Linked DNA regions of Homo sapiens: all the other regions are linked to region 3. The links are contacts of gene promoters, found by promoter capture Hi-C in blood cells and fetal thymus (Javierre and others, 2016). All regions are on one chromosome and are shown on one strand. Each heading gives the region's core, a stretch centred on a gene start or on the middle of the fragment in contact. The rest is flanking DNA. Distances are from core to core; before and after follow the strand shown. Region 1 overlaps ALPK2 (alpha kinase 2). Region 2 overlaps ALPK2 (alpha kinase 2). Region 3 holds the start of MALT1 (MALT1 paracaspase).

Evidence for each region. The method cuts DNA at HindIII sites, captures the fragments that hold promoters and counts their contacts. A CHiCAGO score of 5 or more calls a contact.
Region 1: a contact is called between a fragment that was not itself captured here and the fragment with the promoter of MALT1 in region 3, in 4 of 17 cell types (non-activated CD4 T cells, naive CD8 T cells, naive CD4 T cells and 1 more). The highest score is 5.7, in non-activated CD4 T cells.
Region 2: a fragment that was not itself captured here is called in contact with the fragment with the promoter of MALT1 in region 3 in 12 of 17 cell types (activated CD4 T cells, naive B cells, monocytes and 9 more); the score reaches 23.3 in activated CD4 T cells.

The regions. Positions count from the first base shown.
Region 1 is chr18:58,511,310-58,514,028 of GRCh38, forward strand. The region is part of intron 10 of ALPK2 (alpha kinase 2); the gene reads right to left. Among named protein-coding and RNA genes, the nearest start is that of ALPK2-AS1, 44 kb to the right of the region's middle. RefSeq lists enhancers at 192-963, 964-1,733. The HindIII fragment of the contact is 2,835 bases long and covers 1-2,719 here.
Region 2 is chr18:58,527,750-58,530,647 of GRCh38, forward strand. ALPK2 (alpha kinase 2) reads right to left here. Exons shown (of 13, transcript NM_052947.4): 6 at 1,342-1,489. Among named protein-coding and RNA genes, the nearest start is that of ALPK2-AS1, 28 kb to the right of the region's middle. The HindIII fragment of the contact is 2,609 bases long and covers 339-2,898 here.
Region 3 is chr18:58,670,176-58,672,875 of GRCh38, forward strand. MALT1 (MALT1 paracaspase) reads left to right here and starts at 1,290. Exons shown (of 17, transcript NM_006785.4): 1 at 1,290-1,677. The coding sequence starts at 1,469. It overlaps MALT1-AS1 (MALT1 antisense RNA 1), which reads right to left and starts at 1,698. Exons shown (of 2, transcript NR_164150.1): 1 at 1,294-1,698; 2 at 1-633. It overlaps LOC105372146 (a long non-coding RNA gene), which reads right to left. Exons shown (of 4, transcript XR_935537.3): 4 at 2,438-2,684. RefSeq lists an enhancer at 609-868 and a silencer at 1,029-1,818. The HindIII fragment of the contact is 13,202 bases long and covers 1-2,700 here.

The sequences.
Region 1 (2,719 bases), core at 114-2,613, 160 kb before region 3:
GCATCGATGTTCATAAGGGATATTGGTCTAAAATTTAATAAACTCTTTATTGCAATTTCCCTGTCTTGATAAATCAGCTCTGTCTGTACAGCGGACAAGGTGAACCCATCCAGCGGTTACATGCACACACCAGCTGGGGCACAGGTCCTGCCCTGCTCACTTGCTCTTGCCTCTGTGAGAGCTGGGAGTGTTCTCCCGGAACAATGCCCTGTACTTCTCCACCCAGGCTGTGCCTTCTCCCAGGAGGTAAGCTGAAGGCTTTACGTGGTTATTAACTTGAGCCAAAGGTGCTTGGAAAAACATTATTTTTTATTAAAACAAATATAGTCATAAAGGAAGGAGGACACAACATTCAATAGAATTTAAAAGCTATAAAATATTACACTTCAAAGAAATTACACCTGCGGGCCAGCTAATTTGGATGAAGCCCCCAGACCCTTTGACGGGCACACAGGCATCCTCCTGTGCCATTTAGGAGCATTTCCTGGAAACTGTGAGAATCCCCTTCACTTCATGAAGAGGACACAGAGGCTTGCTCATGAGCAGAATCTGAGCCAGAACAGTGTCCTTCTAGAACCCCACCCCTGGACACAAGGCCCCTCTAATACCAGCGTACCCTGATTACTATCATGCCAGAGTCTTTGAGACATTCTTTCTAATTTTAAGATAGAACCTCTTTGTGTCTTGTTAAAGAAATTTCAAATTTCAGCCAGATGGGAGTGGGCACATTAGGACAGTGGACCTTTCCCGCAGCCCTGAAATCGGTGCAGCCGCCAAGCCACCCTCTGTCGTGCTTTGTCACTTCTGCAGGATCCAGGGCACCCTGATTCCCTCCTGAGGACCGACCCCCTGTGGCTACTGACCCTTCTGCCAACAAAAGGATTCACGGTTTGCTTGGGCTCTTATTAATTCTGCATCCCTGGTGGGGAAAAAAACCAGAAACAAGAGCTGGGCATTATTCAGGGTCTTAATTAGGCCTGGCCTCTGCCCAGCAGGACGCCATTTGCATAGACAATGTGACTCCATTGATATTCATGAATTCAAAAACAGAAGCTGCCCAAATGAGGAGTGTTTTATCTCCAAGACCTCACATGCTCCGTTAAAAAAGGCTTCTTCAGGCCTGCTTCATTGCCTGGAAATAAATATGGGGGTGGCCCCAGCGGGGGTCAGTCTAGGGGCTGTGGCAGTGGGGGAGGGGGACAGGACTCCTGGTCCTCTCTCTAGACGTGCAGGCTTTCAGAGAAGGTTGGTAATATACAGGGTCAGCTCTGTGTGCGTGTGTTGTGTGTATGTGTTGTGTGTGTGGTTTGTGGTTGTGTGATGTGTATACGTATGTGTGGTGTGTGTGTGCTGTGTGTGTGTGTGGTATGTGTGTGGTATGTTCGTGTGGTGTGTATGTGTATGTGTGTATTGTCTGTGGTGTGTGTGTTATGTGGTGTGTGTTGTGTGTATGTGTATGTGTGTGGTGTGTGTGGTGTGTGGGGGTGTGTGTGATGTGTGTGAGGTGCATGTATGAGGTGTGTGTGTGTGTGTATGTGGTGTGTGTGTGGTGTGTTGTATGTGTGGTGTGTGTGGGGGTGTGTAATGCGTATGTGTGTGGTGTATGTGTGATGTGTGGGGTGTGTGGGGTGTGTGGTGTGTGTGTTGTATGTGTGGTGTGTGTATGTGTGGTGTGTGTGTGGTGTGTGTTGTGTGTTTATGTGGGGTGTGTGTGGTGTGTGGTTTGTGTGTGGTGTGGTGTGTTTGTGCATATGGTGAGTGTTGTGTGTTTGTGTGTGGTGTGTGTGTGGTATGTGTGTTGTATGTGGTGTGTGTTTGTATGTAATCTGTGTGGTATGTATGTGTGGTGTGGGGGTGTGTGTGGGGTGTGTGTTTGTGTTGTGGGTGTGTTTATGTGTATGGTGAGTGTTGTTTGTGTGGTATGTGTGTGTGTATGGTGAGTGTTGTTTGTGTAGGGGGTGTGTATGTGTGTTTTTTGGCTGTGGAGTCCTCTGATTTAGGTTCCATAAACATGGAGTCTGGCCCAGAGGCCCTTCTGAGGCCCCTTACTCCTCCCATGTACCGTCAGCATTCATGTGGTCACAAACTGTCCCCTTGTAAGGAATGGGAAAGTGGTTTAGATAGAAAAATGTCCTAACCTATCTTTAAGGCAGTGGCCTATTTACTGTGATGCTAATGCAGCAAATGAATCAGCCTCCTGATCCTTCACTTGCATGAGCCCTTTCCAAGTCCCTAGATCAATTATTTACAATTTTGTGTTCTTTTCTTTAAAAAGGACCCAAATTTGCCAGGCATGGTGGCTCATGCCTATAACGCCAGCACTCTGGGAGGCCGAGGCAGGAAGATCACTTGAGGCCAGGAGTTGTAGGCCAGCCTGGGCAACATACAGAGACCCTGTCTCTACGAGAAAATTTTTTTTAATTAGCCAGGTGTGGTGGTGAGCACCTGTAGTCCCAGTTACTTTGGAGGCTGGATCACTTGAGCCCGGGAGGTCAAGGCTGCAGTGAGCCGTGATTGCACCACTGCCCTCCAGCCTGGACAACAGAGGGAGACCATGTCTCTTAAAAAAAATAAAACAGAAAGGAAAGAAAGAAGCCCAAATTGCATAAGAGTCAAGCCACACAAAACTTGGGTCTGTCCCTGCTGGAGGGCACTGTGGTTCTGTGTGTGGTAGGGTTGACTTGTGGGTTAAATCTTTTCTTTTTTGAAGAAAACTTAA
Region 2 (2,898 bases), core at 393-2,892, 140 kb before region 3:
ACCTAAGACAGGCAGGGTAATGGTGACATTTTAGGCAAAGTGGTTATGCTATCAATTACAATCCAGTTAGATGCTCTGGAGTGATGTTAGTAGAAATGAAATCATAGCTCAAGTATTCCATGATTACATTTGAGAAATAGTTTCCAGACATATGTTCCAAGCAGACATATATGATTTAATTAAACAGAAAACTCAGATTTTCTCACTTTTTCAGTCTACTGGTGACAAAATTAAGGGGATTGGAACCCCTCCCATTTCTTAGGGAGCTAAACTGGGAACCCTTTGGCAGAGGGTTGACTTTTGAACCAGGTGATTTGTTTCTAGATTGTGTCAGATGAAGCTTGAATTCATCAGTTCACTTGAACAAGCATTTATTGCCAAGAAAAGCTGCTTAAGGAAGCCAGTAATCAGGTTTATTCCACAGGGGATATTCTTGGCAATGATTCTCACGCTCATCTCTTGCCTCCTCATTCTTCTCTCCTTTATTATCTTAAGGACATGGCTGGACGCAGTGGGTCACTCCTGTAATCCCAGCACTTTGGGAGGCTGAGGCAGGTGGATCACTTGAGGCCAGGAGTTCAAGACCAGCCTGGGCAATGTGGCAAAACCCTGTCTCTACTAAAAATACAAAAGAAAATTAGCCAAGCATGGTGGTGTGCTCCAGTAATCCTAGGTACTCGGGAGGCTGAGGTGGGAGGATCACTTAAGCCCAGGAGGTGGAGGCTGCAGTGAGCCGTGATTGCACCACTATACTCCAGCCTGGGAGATGGGAGTAGCACCTTGTCTCAAAAATAAAAATAAAAATCATAGGGACCCAGAAATAAACAGGTTTTCCCATCTTAGTGATGGCTGCTGGTCACCCTCAATAGCTGTTACTTTTCTGTAACCTCATAGATTGCTGTTGTTGTTGTTTTTATTCATCTCCTTAGCTTTGTTTGACCTTTATCAGATTACTGGGAATTTATGAAACAGAAAACACACCCAAGTTAAATTCACAGACATACAGATGAGAGCTCTTTAATCTTAGGACCACAGAACCTCAGACTAGAATATCATTTGACATGTTCCTTCCCCTGATTTAAAAAATGTAGTGAAAGGTTGTGTGACTTCCCAAAACCCCAGAACTCAATTCTGGCAAAACCTGGGCAAGAATCCTCCATCATTTTCCCCATCCAGACACTTGTCTTCCGATATTTAGTCTTTTTTAATATTGTGGATGTGGAATCTCTGCTTCAATTTTCCTTTTCACGTCCTATAATTTATTCTTTTTTCTTTTTTACAACCATGTTGTGAAATAAACAAGCAACAACTGTGAAAAGTAACCAGGGAAAAACATCGCACCTTCTCTGCACTTGGGCTATGGACTTTGAATCTTTTGTCCAGCAGATAGTAGAATCTTCATGAATTTCTGCAAATTGGCAGCTTAATTTTACATTTCCAGAGTGTTCAGGGAACATCTCAGCTTGGATCTTTTTCAGTAATACTGGAGCTAGAAACAAGATATTTGAAGGTCAGTGTAACAAAAGACTTTCCCATTTCATACCATTTAATTCTCATAACAATCCTGAGAGACAGGAATATTAATTATTATCCCCAATTATGGAAGTGAGAATTGAGTCTCTGAGGGGAGAGGTGGCTTGCCTAAATAGTCGGAAAATTTACAAATCAATCTAATAGAAAATGCTCACTTCCATTACTTAAAATTCTTTAGGTGCAGCCTGTAATGCTTAAAGTGAAATAGAACTTGAGAGATTTTTTCTAAAGGGGATGAGAGGTGGGAGGATTTTAGATATCTATTCTATAGGATCTCATCCAAATAAAGATGTTTTTAAATGATTACCAGATCATCCAGGTCGAAATCAGAGCTAGGAATTAGGGAGTAGAATAAAATCTGGATTATCCAAAAAACTACGGCTAAGCCCCCAAAATGTAAAAGACACCTCAACAATAGGTTATTGGCTGAATAATATTCATCTTTTCCCTTTTATCACACTTGTCTTTGCTGAAGATAACCTAGTAGATTGGAGTGATGTCTGATATCAACCTCATTAGCAAAAGAGAATAGAAGCAATAAGGAAACAATTCCCACTGGTTGGGCTGAGACCTTTGAAATATCACCTCAGTATCAATATCAGTGAGGAACAATTAGCATGCTAATGTGTAATTAGCTAGGGCAGCCACTGGGCGGCAGCCTAGACATTAGAACAAGACAAGGATGAGGCCCCTGTCCCGAGTGGTCGTAACAATTGGGTAGGAAATGAGATTACTGCAGATGTGTGAGTCTATCACAAATTAAGTAGCATAACTCCACAGCGTTGGTAACACAAAAAAGTACATCAGTATAAAACATATGTAATCCGTAGCCAAACCAAGATCACCAATACTGAGACTTTGCTCCACTGCCTCAAATTATACTACGGTGAAAATATCCATGAATTCAAGGTGCTTCTCATCTCTCCTTGGCACCAGCAGATGCTAGGATGACAGAATGCATATTTAAAAGCTAATTCTCTACCCTGGAAGTGATAATGGGCCTGTTGGGTAGCAAATCTTTCAACCAGAGAGTAACCAAGACTGCTAACAGTATCCTGGGAGCCAAGTGGATAATTGAGAGAGAGAGAAAATGTAACAAGTACGTATTGATGGCAAACCCGCATCAGTGCATTTGGGCCTGCTGGTTCCTGCCCAAGCTGAGACCGTGTTCAGGTTCACAATGTCAAACTCTTGGTCCAGGTCTCGACCAAGCCCACCTCCTCATCTGGGCCATTTCCTAGAGGGTCTTTCCAACACCATGCAGTGGCCGGCTTCATGGGTGATGTGGGGACACCTAAATATTCCTAAGCCTGCCAGAACCTGTTGTACCGAACACAAGGAAAATTGGAGGATGGCGGGAAGGGC
Region 3 (2,700 bases), core at 40-2,539:
GGTAATAGCATTTACTGAGTCATCTACGATGTGCCAGTTACCGAGTTAAGTGCTTCACATACATCAACTCCTTTAATTCTGGCAACAACTCTATATAAACTGTATTGTCAGTCCTGTGTTAATAGATGAGGCAGAGAAATTAAGAAACTTATTCAAGCTCCTAACACTTGAATCGAGCAGATCTTTCATGCTCTTAGCCATCTCACTGCAGTCTGAATTCTTAACTTATGCTAGAGTGAAGTTTAATGACTGCTTGTGCTAGAATGTGGTGGAGACTGTATGGCGCACCTACCTCGCCAACATGTATAAGAATATAGGTATCCAAATTACTGGTCAGAAAATCCTGCGGCCTTGGGTGATGAAAAGCTAATGGCAACAGAAATTGGGCCAGGAAGCCTCGTGTAGGGAACTACCTGACTGGTCACATTTCGTAAGTTACTTCCTTTTTGTCCCAAACGAAGCCATAGTTTTCAAAGGGATAATGGCCTTGGATGTTGCTAAGATTGGCAGAGAGAGCTCAGGTGTCGTCCATTCCGGATCATTCCAGGGAAAGGCATCCTCTACAGGGTTGCCTGCTTTGATGACGGAGATTGCGGGCGGCAGTCTGACGCGGTGTAAACCAGATGATTCCTGCTAAAAACAATCATTTCCAAGATCTGATTAGCCCTAAATATGCCACAGCTCAGTTTGCAAAGTAGTAATTGTTTAAAAGTCTAGGCAAAGATTTTGGCCAATTCCAACTCAAGTATCCGGATCTCCAGCACTACTTCCCTCTAGCAATGCCATACACATCTAACCCTAAAACGAGGAAGCGTCCGCTGAGGTTGCCCACTGCAGGATGCTGGTGTGTCGCCGGGCACATGAAAGTCCCTGAGTCAGGGGAGAGCGCTCGCCGGGGACTGCGGGCGGGAGCCGGCGACTGAGAACCGCTTGCCCCGCTCTCTGGCGTGAGTACGCAGGCCTCCTCCCACGGTCTCAGGAAGCCCAGACGCCGCAGGCTTCCCCGCCGTAGAGGAGCTGCCGGGGCGTAATTCCTCCACCGCTTCCTCCTCCAGCTGCACCCACCCGTCCTTTCCTGCTCGGGAGGGCTGGGTTTGAAGCGCGCGCCACGGCCAGCCCGGGACCGCGGGGGAGGGCGAGGGAGGCGCGCAGCCGCACGCACGCAGTAGGCAGCCCCGCCCCGCCCCTCGAGGCCCAAGGTCCCGCCCCTCGAGGCTCCGTGCCCCGCCCCCCGGGTGCCCCGCCCCTTTGCGCGGCTGGCGCGGCCAGCAGGCCAGGCTCCCCTCGGCAAACCTGTCTAATTGGGGCGGGGAGCGGAGCTTCCTCCTCTGAGGGCCGTGCCGCGCTGCCAGATTTGTTCTTCCGCCCCTGCCTCCGCGGCTCGGAGGCGAGCGGAAGGTGCCCCGGGGCCGAGGCCCGTGACGGGGCGGGCGGGAGCCCCGGCAGTCCGGGGTCGCCGGCGAGGGCCATGTCGCTGTTGGGGGACCCGCTACAGGCCCTGCCGCCCTCGGCCGCCCCCACGGGGCCGCTGCTCGCCCCTCCGGCCGGCGCGACCCTCAACCGCCTGCGGGAGCCGCTGCTGCGGAGGCTCAGCGAGCTCCTGGATCAGGCGCCCGAGGGCCGGGGCTGGAGGAGACTGGCGGAGCTGGCGGGGAGTCGCGGGCGCCTCCGCCTCAGGTGAGCTCAGGGCCGCGGCAGGCCGGGCGCGCGGGTCGAGCGGGGTGGGCTGCGGTGGGGAGGTGGGGGCGCTGTCGGTGGGGCTGAGCGCGGCGGGGGCCGCCGGCGTGAGTGAGCGGAGGTGGGGAGGACTTCGGTCATTGAGGCGGAGCGGAACTCAGCAGCTCCCCGGAACGCCTGGGGTTTGAGAGCGGGGCCCAGGGCTCTGGAGGGTGGAGGCAAAAGTGGCCCAGCGGCTGCCTCGCTCCCTGTTCCCACCCCCGCCCCTGGTGAAAGGGAGAAGTCGAGGTTGACCCCGGAGGATAGTGAGAGAAGGAAAGCTGTCAGGGGACCCCTAGGATGGGGCAGTCATCCAGAGGACTTAAAATGCAAAAGAAAGGGATGTGGACACTGCTCTGGGAGACCTAAGGAAGGCTGGGAAGAAGCGCAGGCGAGGTGATGAATGCAGAGGGTGGGGTGCAGGAATTCATGAACATTTTGCAAGGTATTGGGAAAGACTGACGCCGAACTCATCATCTCCCTCCATCAAACCAGGTTACCACGTTCTCTTCTTGACTTCACCATGAACATGAAACTCGAAGTAAAACTATTTTCCTTGTTAGGTTTGGAATGGCTGTATTAGGGTTCCTGAAGTTTTGGTCTCGAGACTCCTTTACCCTCTTAAGAATTATTGAGGACCCCAGAGAGCTCTTATGTGGGTTAGAGATAATACATACATGTAATACATACTGATATTTACCACCTTTGAAATTAAAGCTAAGACATTTAAAAAATATTAATTTATTTAAAAAGAATAACCCATTATATGGTAACAGAAATAATACTTTCGTGGAAAAACAAATTTTCCAAAACAAAAAAGTCTATTAGAGAAGTGGCATTGGTTTTCATTTTGAAGATCTCTTTAATGTCTTGGCTTAATCACAGAGCTGGATTCGTTTATGTGCTTCTGCATTCAGTCTGTCGCACTATTACAGGTCACAGAACGCTGGAAACTGCAGTGTCCACTCCTGAAAGAATGAATGA